Linked DNA regions of Homo sapiens: regions 1 and 3 are each linked to region 2. Evidence: promoter capture Hi-C in 16 types of primary human blood cells and fetal thymus (Javierre and others, 2016). All regions are on one chromosome and are shown on one strand. Each heading gives the region's core, a stretch centred on a gene start or on the middle of the fragment in contact. The rest is flanking DNA. Distances are from core to core; before and after follow the strand shown.

Region 1 (3,963 bases), core at 815-3,314, 410 kb after region 2:
TGCAGAGGTGCTTGCCTCATTTACTACCCTTTTTTCAAGAATCACAATCCTGTATAGCCTATTTTGCAATGTGTTATGGACTGAATTGTGTCCCCCAAAAATCCAATTGAAGTCTTAACCCCTAGTGTATCTCAGAATGTGACTATATTTGTAGATAGGGCCTTTCAAGAAATAATTAAGGTAAAATGAAGGCATACGGGTGAGGCCTTACTCCATTACGGCTAATATCTTTATGAGAAAAGGAAGAATCACCATGGATGAGTGGACCACATGAGGACCAGGAAAGGACACAGCAAGTAGACTGCCCTCTGCAAGCCAAGGAGAAAGACCTCAGAAGAAATTAAACCTGCCAACACTGCCATCTTGATCTTCTACACTCAAGAACTGTGAGAAAATACACTCCTGGCTTTTTTTTTTTTTTTTTTTCTGAAATGGAGTCTCACTCTTTTGCCTAGGCTGGAGTGCAGTGGCACAATCTCAGCTCACTGCAACCTCTGCCTCCCAGGTTCAAGCGATTCTCCTGCCTCAGACTCCTGAGTAGCTGGGATTACAGGCGCCTGCCACCATGCCCAGCTAATTTTTGTATTTTTAGTAGAGACAGGGTTTCACCATGTTGGCCAGGCTGGTCTCGAACTCCTGACCTCAAGTGATCTGACTCCTCCTCGGCCTCCCAAAGTGCTGGGATTACAGGCGTGAGCCACTGCACCCGGCCTATTTCTGTTTTTTTTTGTTGTGTTTTGTTTTGTTTTGAGACGGAGTCTCGCTCTGTTGCCCAGGCTGGGGTGCAGTGGCATGATCTCGGCTCACTGCAAGCTCCGCCTCCCAGGTTCATGCCATTCTCCTGCCTCAGCCTCCTGAGTAGGTGGGACTACAGGCGCCCATCACCACGCCCGCCTAATTTTTTGTATTTTTAGTAGAGACGGGGTTTTACCATGTTAGCCAGGATGGCCTCGATCTCCTGACCTTGTGATCCACCCGCCTCAGCCTCCCAAAGTGCTGGGATTACAGGTGTGAGCCACCGCGCCTGGCCCCTATTTCTGTTTTTTAAGCCACTAGTCTGGTATTTTGTTATGGCAGCTCTAGCAAACACATATACCATGTATGAACAGCAGTTGTTTTGTATACTTCATGCAGTTTTCTAGTTGTTTACAGCACTAAGGGAAATCTGGTACCAGTTTTCTGTCTGAGCTGGAAGCTGAATACAACAGATTTGTTTTAACAGAGACAGAACAAGTTGGAAAAAGTTATAAATAGTCACACGAATTTCCATTTTACACAGGAAAACGTAATGAACATTTTAAAAAACAGCTTAAATGAAGTAATTGATATACAATAAACTGCACATATTTGAAGTACAAACTTGATAAAGTTTGACATATGTATACACCAATAAGATCATTACCACTGTCAATCTAAATAATAAAGAGAAAGAGGCTCTCTAAAAGAAAAAGAGATTTATTCAGGAGTTACGCATTGCAATGGGAATATGTGTGCCACAGTAAACTATGTATATGTATTGAATAGGTAAAGAAAGACAAAGGTTTTGGCTGGATGCGGTGGTTCATGCCTGCAATCCCAGCACTTTGGGAGACTGAAGTGGGTGGATTACATGAGGCCAGGAGTTCGAGACGAGCCTGGTCAACATGGCGAAAACCTGTCTCTACTAAAAATACAAAAATTAGCCGGGGATGGTGGTGCATGTCTGTAATCCCAGCTACCGGGGAGACTGAGGCGGGAGAATCAAACCCAGGAGGCAGAGGTTGCAGTGAGCTGAGATCACACCACTGCACTCCAGCCTGGGTGACAGAGCAAGACTCTGTCTCAAAAAAAAAAAAAAAAAAAAGAAAAAGGAAAAAGACAGAGGAGAAAGGTTTTCAAAGGAAAAAATGAAGAGGATTACATCATTGTTTTGAAATGATATCCTTGGCTATAAAAATCCTTAACAAGGGTGTTGCCTGGCTGAGGTTGGACAGGCAGTTGCTTGGTAGATGTCTTTGCAGATGAATTTTTTGTGTAAGTTTGTGATGGCTTTTTTGCAAGGTTGTGTTTTTTCAAGGGTCTTTTGTGATAGCTTCTGTTATGAGACATACAAGCCTTCCCTGGCTCTATTTTTTTTTTTAAACACTAGTGACTCCTAGTGTTAAATCTCAATTCTAACAACTTTCACATTACAATCAAGATAAAATGGCTGCCACCCCCAAAAGTTTCCTTGTGTCCCTTAGTAATCCTTGACTCCTGTACCTATACATCCCTCCTTTGCCTCTACCAATCTACAGGCAACCACTGATCTGCTTACTTACCACTATAGGTTAGTTTCCATTTTCCAGAATTTTATATGAATAGAATCTTTGACATGTGTTTTGTGTGTGTGTATGTGTGTGTGTGTGTGTGATGGAGTCTCCCTCTGTTGCCCAGGCTGGAATGCAATGGCGCGATCTCAGCTCACTGCAACCTCTGCCTCCCGGGTTCAAGCAATTCTCTGCCTCAGCCTCCAGAGTAGCTGGGATTACAGACACCAGCCACCACGCCCAGCTAATTTTTGTATTTTTAATAGAGATGGGATTTCACCATCTTGGCCAGGCTGATCTTGAACTCCTGACCTCATGATCCACCCACCTTGGCCTCCCAAAGTGCTGGGATTACAAGCATGAGCCGCTGCACCCGGCCTCTTTTTTTTATTTGGCTTCTTTCACTCAGCATTATTTTGAGAGTCATACACATTGTTAGGTGTATCAATAGTTTGTTGGGTTCTTTTCTGAGACAGTCTCACTCTATTACCCAGGCTGGAGTGCAGTGGCATGATCACAGCTCACTGCAGCCTCGACCTCCCAGGCTCAGGTGATCCTCCCACCTCAGCCTCCCAAGTAGCTGGGACCGCAGGTGCTCACTACCATATCTGGCAAATTTAAAAAAAAATTTTGCAGGCCAGGTGTGGTGGTTCACCCCTGTAATCCCAGCCTGTGGGAGGCCAAGGCAGGGCCAATCACAAGGCCAGGAGTTCGAGACCATCCTGGCCAACATAGTGAAACTCTGTCTCTACTAAAAATACAAAAAAAAAAAAAAAATTAGCCAGGAATGGTGGTGCGTGCCTGTAGTCCCAGCTACTTGGGAGGCTGAAGCAGGCGAATTGCTTGAACCCAGGAGGCAGAGGTTGCAGTGAGCTGAAATCACATCACTGCACTCCAGCCTGGGCAACGAGTGTGTCTCAAAAAAAAAAAAAATTTTTTTTTTTTTTTTTAGCAGAGATGAGGTCTTCCTATGTTGCCCAGGCTGGTCTGGAACTCCTGAGCTCAAGCAATCTTCCTGCCTCAGCCTCCCAAAGTTCTAGGATTATAGGTGTGAACCACCATGCCTATCAGTAGTTTGTTTCTTTATTTCTTTTCTTTTTCTTTTCCTTGTTTTTTTTTTTTTTTTTTTGAGATGGAGTCTCCCTCTGTCACCCAGGCTGGAGTGCAGTGGTGCAATCTCAGCTCGCTGCAATCTCTGCCTCCCGGGTTCAAACGATTCTCCTGTCTCAGCCTCCCGAGTAGCTGGGATTACAGGAGCCCACCACCACACCCGGCTAATTTTTGTTTCTTTAGTAGGGACAGCATTTCACCACGTTGCCCAGGCTAGTCTCGCACTCTTGGCCTCAAGTGACCCACCCGCCTCAGTCTCCTAAAGAAATACCTAGTTTTTGTATCTACGCAATGTAATGTATTCTAATAATTTTCTTTCTTTTTTTTTTTTTTTGAGACCGAGTCTCACCCTGTCACCCAGGCTGGAATGCAGTGGCGTGATCTGAGCTCACTGTAACCTCCGCCTCCTGGGTTCAAGCGATTCTCGTGTGTTGGCCTCCCAAGTAGCTGGGATTACAGGCGCCTGCCACCACACCAGGCTAATTTTTGGTATTTTTAGTAGAGATGGGCTTTCACCATGTTGTTCAGGCTGGTCTCAAACTCCTGACCTCAAGTGATCCACCTG
Region 2 (4,346 bases), core at 1,744-4,243:
CCCCCCACCCACTTCCTGCCCTGTTGCCTCATCTTCCCTGCTACACACTCCAAGTCATCCACCCAACCCCCAGCTCCTGGTAACTCAGCCCCAGCTCCTGGAAGTCCAGCCCCAGCCCTGCTACCACCACTTCCACCTTGGCCTCCCCTGAGAACAAGTGGAGGGCAAATAGAGCCCAGGCTTGAATTCACTCGTTTGAAAAACAACTCAAGCCAAACCCTGTGGGAGCAGTGCCTGCCTGGGGCACCTCAGGCTCATGTGCACCTCTGAATTCTTTCGGGCACCTGCCCCAAATGTAAAGAGGCTGCTACCCAATGCCTGGGCCCCTCTGACTCTCTGCTCCTCTCTGGCTGTCTCTCTGTTTTTGTCGTCTCTCACCTTCCCCTGTCATGGCCAGTACTTGGTCCTCAGGCCAGAAAAGGTGGATCCCGTGTCCCTGGATTTTACTAATGCCAGGAGTCACATAAATACTCCTATATATACACAGAGAGGGCCCGCGCATGCTTGGAAATCCTCAGATACCAAAGAACAAAGTGCAGGACACAACAGAGATACTGTACATATTGAGAAATGTGTACATCCCCCAAATGCAGAGAAATGCACACCAACATACAGAGACACACCTCACAAACACATTCACAGAAACAGACACACTCACACTCCAAGAAATACTAAGACACCCATGAAGGGAACATTTCAGACATGCACAGGACCCTGAACTCACATGGACACAGACACCCAGGAGCAGGTGGGCCCTGACTCAGGTGCACACAGCCTAACACACAGTACTCACACACAAGCTCCCCTAAGTCTAAATGCCGCAAGAGACTCCCACAGAAAGAAAATTCCCCCAGAGGCCTCCAAGGCCCTGCCTGGAAGGAAGAGGAAGAAAGTGCCCGCCAGGCACCGAAATGCTAAGGCACTGTAAAGTGAAAATCATTTCCCCAACTCCGTGGGAACAGCACTTCCATTCCCATCTCTTAGGGAAACAGGGAAGTGGTTTAACTCGTTCTGCAAATCAACTCCAGATCCACAAGAGTGCCCTCCCCCTCGGCGGGGAGAGGCCAGGCTCCCAGTGCTGCAGCCCAGTGAATGCTGATCCGCTGAGGCCCACCCCAGGCCACAGGGTGCTGGGCAAACTCACCAAGCCCGCACGTCTGCCTAACATCTGGCTGGGCCAGGAAGAGTGCCTGGTGGACACCCAGCCTGGCGACACACAGGAGGCACGGCCGGTGAAGAAAATGGATCTGTGCACCAAGGGCCTGCACCATCTCGCCGGGCTCTGCCCTGACAGACCATTCCTTACCTTTCTTGATCACGGACTGGTCTAGGAGGCTCATTCCCGGCTCGTCCATTGCCTGCAAATAGCAGAGGGCAGCGGTGAGGGCGCATAAAGCCCTAGCCGCCCATGTCTTCCCAAGCCCCTGCCACCCAGGGTCTCTGTCTGCTCCGCCCAAGGCGCACCAGCTTCGCTTGGGGCGGCGACGGGCAGGCCCAGGAATCGCTATGTCCAGGCACTGAGCTGGAGCCCTGGGCATCTCACTGTGCAGTGCAAAAAGGGAATTTTGAATCTTACACTGGTAACTATTATGCTTCTCTTCGCCCCAGGTGCAGGCTGCCCCATGGATGCCACACGTGGCAGCGGGGAGAAAAGAAGTGATTCGGTCCCTGCCGAGGGTTGCTGCCACCCACGCACTGCTGGCGGACTCAGTGCCAGGCAGCCTTGATGGCCAGGCAACGTCTAACCCAGGAGGTGGGACACATCCTCGGAGTCACCAGTGAGATGTGGCGAGCTGGGAGAAAAGTCGGCTTCCTGCATTTGTCACCTTCTGCCTCCAGCCATGGTAGTAAACCACCGCGGCCAGTCCCGACCCATCCCGGATCCCTCGGGTCTCACCTGCAGGTCCTCCAGACCGGGGGCCGCCGCCAGCCCCGGAAGGCCGAGAGGTGCGTCTGCCAGGCCGTGCGCGCCGTCGGCCAGGCCGTGCAGGAGCCGGGGCACGGCAGTGGCATAGTCACGGCGCGGGTCAAGGCCCAGGGCGCGGGCGGGCGGTGCCAGCAGGCCGGGAGGCTCCTCGTGGGCGCGGGCGGCTGCGCGGGGCGCGGCCCAGGCGGCCTGAGGAGGCTGCGGCTGCGCCAGGGGCGCCAGGCCGCCATATGGGTCCCCTGCCAGGTGGGGAAAGGCTGCGGCGGCGTCGGGCGCCTGACCGTAGGGCAGCGGTGGCTGCGGGTAGGGCGGCGGGAAGTAGGGCGGCTGGAATTCGGCGGCAGCTGTGGCGGCCGGCGTGTGGCAGAGCGGGGGCGCCGGCCCGTAGGCCGCCTGGGGCAGAGACGACAGGCGGGCCCCGCCGGCAGCTGCTCCCAGCCCGTCGGGGCGCTCCTGGGGAAGGAGAGGGGTGCCTTAGGTGACCCACTGGCAGCTGAAAGGACCCCAGCCTGAAAGGATCCTCCTCAGCTCGGGAGGGTTCAGCTGCAGTCCCTCCCGTTTCTTGGGGCCCGAGGTTTATTTCCGAGCCACCCGCGGGCGCAGGAGCCTCAGGCTGGGGACAGCGGTCACTTGCGCATCGCGTTCTCAGCTGGCGAAGTCCCTGCGGCCCCCTCCCTCCGAGATTTCGTTAGCGCGGGACAGGAGGGTTGGAAAGTCCAGCACTCAGGCGCCCCGATCCCCCGGCCGAATATGTCCCGGGCCCGAGACTACTCACCATGGCGGAGTAGGTGTGCACCAGCATGGGGCGGTGAGTGCCGGGCGCGAGGCGTGGCGGCGGCGGAGCCCTAGCCCGACGGCGAGCGCTGCGGGCAGAGGCGCCGGGAGCCGGCACAGCCCGCGGAGGTCACGGTGCGGTAGCTGGGTGCGACCCAGCCGGGATCCTAGTGGGCGTGGGGTCCTCAGCGGTGGCCGTTCCCGGGCGGGTCCATGGAGGCAGGACGGACGGGCACTGATCGCACTTGGAAAAGTCGGTCAACGGGTGCCCAGCGCCCGCCCTTCCTCCTCTGAGCGTAGCCTGCTCCATGCACTCCAGTTATAGTGGCGGGGGCGCGCCGGGCCTCCGGGGGCGCGCATTAAAGAGACAAGCTATGGCAGTTCTCTCCCTTTTCCCCAGCGGCTGCCACAGGGGAGGCAGTGGCTTTGGCGGGATCGGGTAGGGTGGGTAGGGGGCGTGAATTCAGCCCACATTGATCAGAGCCGCCTTCTGGGCTCGCAGCTCGCAGCTGCAGTGAAACAGAAATATTCGAGGCTGGGACGCAAGGGCCCTACATTTGCCTGGCTCTATCACATCCTTGCCTTTAAGCAAAGCACTATTCTTCGCTGGCCTCAGCTTCCTCGGTAAAATAGGTATCAATCCTTTCTCTAAGCACCTCAAGAGACTTTGGATGAGGTGGGTAATCGGGAACGTGGAAGAAGTTTGTGAGCTGAAGACTCCAGCCTATCTGCTCATGCGCACACAGTGTCAGTGCGTGTGTTTAGGGGGTCTACCATCACAGTCTTTCCTGAATGGTTCTGGATCAAAATCCCTCGAAGGTGCCCACTTCGCTCTCAGGCTTCCTGGGCTGAAAACTTCCAAGCCAAGCCAGGCTCTGAGGGAGTTGGAGACAGAAGCTGGCCAGACAGAGAGAGAGACTTGCCTGGGATGGGTTTGGGTATGAGCTCCACCTGACAAGGGGCCAAGATATTTCTGAAGCCACAGGGTCCTGGGCTGATTGAGTGTGGGCATGAGATACCCAGAGACTGTTGAGTGACTGTGTGTAACTGACTAGCATGGATGCCGTGTGATTGTTACACTAACATGCGCAGGCTACATGTTCCTGTGTTACCATGGCAGGCACTCCCTGGCTGTCAAGCAAGTTCCAGTCTCTGTAGTCACTCTCTCTTTCTCCCCAAACCCAACCCTCCCCTCCTGACAAGCAGAGACAGGGATTAAAGATGGACAAATGAGAGGAATGCTAAGGAGAACAGGAATTAAGAAAGCAGAAGAAAGATGTTTTTTAAAAGCAAGATGTGCAGACCAGGGCAAAGTAGAAATAATCACAGCAGACTTATTACAGAATGTGCCAGCCTCTGTGCAAAGTGCTTCACGAATATTGGGTTCTTTAACCCTCACAGCAGCTCTATGAAAGAGATACCCATATCATCCCCATTTTCAGGGGAGGGGTGAGGCATGGAGAGGTTAAATGGCTTGCCCAAGGTCAAGCAGCTAAGTGGCAGAGCTGGGGTGATCTGCCCCTGGCCCCTCTCTGCTCAGAATCACTATTCTCTACTGCCTCAGACTCAGGGGCTTGGATTTAGTCCTGACTCTGCCTAACTGTGTGATCCTAGCTACATCCCGTTTCCTCTGTGATCTCAGTTT
Region 3 (3,992 bases), core at 1,079-3,578, 390 kb after region 2:
GAGATGGAGGTTGCAGTGAGCTGAGACTGCCACTGCACTCCAGCCTGGACAACAGAGCGAGACTCTGTCTCAAAAAAAAAAAAAGGTTTAGTACTGAAGTAGGTTTAGTTATATATACATTTGTACTCTGTAACTTTTACATCTCCTTGTGCTACTTCTGTTGGGCAAAATCTATAGGACTATAAAAATCTATTGGTTCTCTTCTAAGAGCTAGTGGTGATTGTTAACAAATAGGGTTGCAGATAATCATTCTTATTGTAAATTTAACTTGTTTTCACATAGTTTCGTTTTCATGTAGCACTAAATCTGGAGAAAGTTGCTCATGCTACACAGTACAAATATCCCTTCCTCCCACCATAAAGGCTTGGAATGTTTCCATGGTGTTGTCAGTTAATTGTCAACTTCATTGAACCCCCTTCCATTAGAACAAGAGACTTTGACTATTAAAGTAGATTGTTTATTGTTGCCTGTTAGTATAATGGGAGCCTGATTTCCCAGTGTAAATATGTTAGAGGAACAGCTTCCTAACAGTAGGTAAAGTAATTGAATGGTTTGGCTTTGTTCTGAGTTACGTTCCATTCAAATCTGTACATTGTAGAATTCTTACTATGGAATGTGTCTTCCTCCTTTTCACCTCTTTTCTTGGTGCTAATTGGCAAAAGAAAAATTCTAAGTCAAACCTTTATTAACATGCTGAAGTTTAGTATTGTGCCTGTGTACAAAAGGAGACCTATTGTTGGAACAATCTGAGCACTTTCTGCATAGGAAACAGGATAATGCTGAAAGTAAACACTAGTGTATAAAAGCATCTCACCAAATACTGGTTGTATGACTGACAGGTACATGGTGTGCTAAGGGAGAGAATCTCATTAGAAAGTAATGCTCATTATATCATTCACCAGCACACTCGGAAATATGAGTAGTTTTACCATGATTATATCAGTGAGGAAGTTTTGTCCCCAAACAGGTTATTAATTGGTGATACATAAGAGATTTTCTGTACGGAAACAAGGGTCTTGATTAGAAAGGAATCCATTACAGTTTGGTTGAATTATATAGTAGGGACTCTACTAAAGACAAGAAAATAAGGGGTGTTCCATGGGACACCCACAGAGGGTGAACTTTGAATGTGTGTGGGTGGGGGCTGGTCGGGAAATGGGAAAATCTGCCTATAAAATTAATGTTTCAGTTTATTTTTCAGATTACATGCCTTTCTTTATAAGGGATGCTGGCACAGACCCCCTAAAATAAGCTTTTGGTAGTACTGTACCTTTGAAGAGTGGTGAAGGATGCTAATGGATAATCTCCTGAAAGTTGTGGCTTTTGATACCCTTACTGTGGACTGTAGAGTTGCTAAACGTTGTTTAGCAAATAATGTTGCTTAGTTTCAAATGACATTTGACTTTCATCACTAAAACAGCAATGTACTCAGGGTTGTAAGCTTACTCAAATAGACTTTCAATAAGTCTTCAATGTATATATGATAGTTTTTAGCCTAATGTGAATTTAAATAATCTTAATAGTTTCCTAAAAGTCGATCTGAAACTTGGGGTGGGAAAGGGGAGGTAGCAATTTTTGAAGTATTTTAGCCATTTTTTTCATTTAAAGAAACCACTTGTCCCCATTTCCTCTTCTCCACTTTCTCATAATTTTGTTTTAAGAGGAACACTGGTTGTTTTTTATACTTCTCCTAATCTTTAAAAACTGCATATTGTTAAGACCCCAGTGTATTTAATAGGTATTTTATAAGCATAGCCCATTGGCTCATGTTAGTGAAACCATAATCCTCTTTGCTTAGAACATTAAACTCATAAGAAGTACTACAAACCCCACCACTCTTTATAGATGTATTGTACCACTAATATAAACAGCTAAAAAATGGGGAAATTGTAATGTTACGCCTGTGCAATTTTTAAGTGGCATATTATGGCAGATTAAAATTTAGATACTTGGCTTTTCTTGGGCAAGCCACTAAGTTGTGGCGGAATGTTTTCTGGTGTTCTTGGACTGCAATTATGCACTATTAAAGTAGTGGCCTGCTACATAACTGCATTTAGCCAGCATTTCTGCAGTGCGTAACTGTGAGGAACGTAGTACCGCAAATGGCAATGGACATTAGGACCCGGATGTAGTATTCCTGCTTGCTCCAAGATTCTCATTGCCGACTGCATACAGGTAGGTAACAAGCAATATAATCTAACTTGGTGACTTGTATGTACTTTTATTCCGTGGGCATTCTGGCATCACATTTCTGACAATGAAATTACAGTGCAGCACCTAACACTTGTATGGTAAAGCTAGCTTACATCAAAACTGTGTGGGTGTGGGGTTAGAGCTGTAATTTGTCAGGCAGAATTCAGTGCTGTTGCAGTTCTCAGATAAAAAGTGCAAACTTGATTCTTTGGTATATCTGACTCAGTTGTGTGGTTTCCTTTAGTTGCATTGTAACTGAAGATAACATGGAACACATCAGTGGTGTGGGGGAGAGGGAACTAAACTATACTTGGGAACTAGGGTGCTTTTAGCACCTTGACATGGACCGTATAGCATGTGATAATTAGTCTCTATTGTAGCAAACTGACCTGCCCATAGATCGGCAATATCAGTAATTTCATTATGCAATCTTGGTAATTCTACAAGTTGAGTTGAACTAAAAGTACAGGTTTTTTTGTAATGCGATTTAAAATTTTTAAAAACATGGGCTTCATGAAAACACCATTGTTACTAACTTGGGCTTAGATGGGAATCTAATGTGAATAGTTCAAGTTATGGGACTTGTCTAAATGTGTCTATACTCTAAACCTGGGGGAAGGTGGTGTGGAACATTGACTTGACTACAGTCGAATACATGTTGGGAATCATTCCCAATCATAAGACATCGTCGTTTCTGTAGGATGACTGCATATGTTCAGAGTAGCTTTTTGAATTTGGTTCCCTTAGCTTTAGGGATGTGATGTTATAGTCCAAAATGTTTACAAGAAAACCTAAGTCTTCAAAAGCACAACTTTTGTTGCTTAGGACTTTGCATCAACTGTTGTTCCAGACCTCACTTCAACTTCTTGGTCTCTGAACTGGTTTTAGCTAGCATGCATGAGAGACAGTTTTCATGTATAATGTTTCTGCTCTGTAACTGGAAAGTGGTTTACTTTGCATAAATGCTGATGAAAACTTCATGACTATGAGACTTTTCTTCTGTGTATCAAGAAAAAGCTTGCTCGTTGGCAAGCAATTCACAAGGTGGGGACAGACTTGTACTTTAACATGTAGTCCATTCAAGCAAACAACTTTGGACTCTACTGATAGATGAAAGAGCAAATGATGACTAGTTTAGCCTCTGCATATCAACAATATAATGCAGATCAAGTATAATGCTCAATATTAGTGACATGAGTATCACTAAATTACATAGAACCCTGATGGGGTTTCCTGTGTCGTAATCCATTAAATCGGTGGCCAGTGCTTGCTGCCGTGGTTTAGTGATTGGGTGTTAGAAATAAAAACTCAGGTCTATTTCTTACCAGTCAGTAACAATTTTTAGAGAATGTACTTGGTATATAATATATGGACTTCAGGAACTTTATTGGGGTGGGGGGTTAATTTTGCCTTACCCTGTTCACTTTCAGATGATTAGGCTTTTGCACTTTAGAATGAGAAACTTGTGACGTTAGTGTGTTCTTACTAGCTTTAATTTGTATGTAGCAATGAATTGTGAATCTTAGTGCAGTGGGTTTTTTTAAAAAACTCAAAAAGCTGGGAATTAAGTGGTTTCAGTAATAATGCTATACCGAGGTGCTTGCATTGTATTTCATAATTTTGTTACAAACCAAAATTATTTTTAATGAGAACAGTCTTGGGTTCAGAGGTGTGATGCCAGAATGTATTTTCGTACTGTTAGGCCCTTGGAACAGATACCGGTGCTTTCTGAAAGATGAAAGAAATGCAATGGGTGCTCTTCATGCAAGGTTGCAAACCTACCAAGAATGCATAATAGT

What was found. The method cuts DNA at HindIII sites, captures the fragments that hold promoters and counts their contacts. A CHiCAGO score of 5 or more calls a contact.
Region 1: a fragment that was not itself captured here is called in contact with the fragment with the promoter of TFAP2E in region 2 in 1 of 17 cell types (M2 macrophages); the score reaches 5.2 in M2 macrophages.
Region 3: a contact is called between a fragment that was not itself captured here and the fragment with the promoter of TFAP2E in region 2, in 1 of 17 cell types (monocytes). The highest score is 5.6, in monocytes.

Annotation. Positions count from the first base shown.
Region 1 is chr1:35,158,456-35,162,418 of GRCh38, reverse strand. No RefSeq gene overlaps it. Among named protein-coding and RNA genes, the nearest start is that of SFPQ, 33 kb to the left of the region's middle. The HindIII fragment of the contact is 4,233 bases long and covers 1-3,963 here.
Region 2 is chr1:35,571,961-35,576,306 of GRCh38, reverse strand. It overlaps TFAP2E (transcription factor AP-2 epsilon), which reads right to left and starts at 2,993. Exons shown (of 7, transcript NM_178548.4): 1 at 2,703-2,993; 2 at 1,898-2,380; 3 at 1,307-1,358. The coding sequence starts at 2,729. TFAP2E-AS1 (TFAP2E antisense RNA 1) reads left to right here. Exons shown (of 3, transcript NR_183387.1): 2 at 1,609-1,947. RefSeq lists enhancers at 1,542-2,288, 2,530-3,029. The HindIII fragment of the contact is 6,124 bases long and covers 1-4,346 here.
Region 3 is chr1:35,179,318-35,183,309 of GRCh38, reverse strand. SFPQ (splicing factor proline and glutamine rich) reads left to right here. Exons shown (of 10, transcript NM_005066.3): 10 at 1-374. Among named protein-coding and RNA genes, the nearest start is that of SFPQ, 12 kb to the left of the region's middle. The HindIII fragment of the contact is 1,769 bases long and covers 1,444-3,212 here.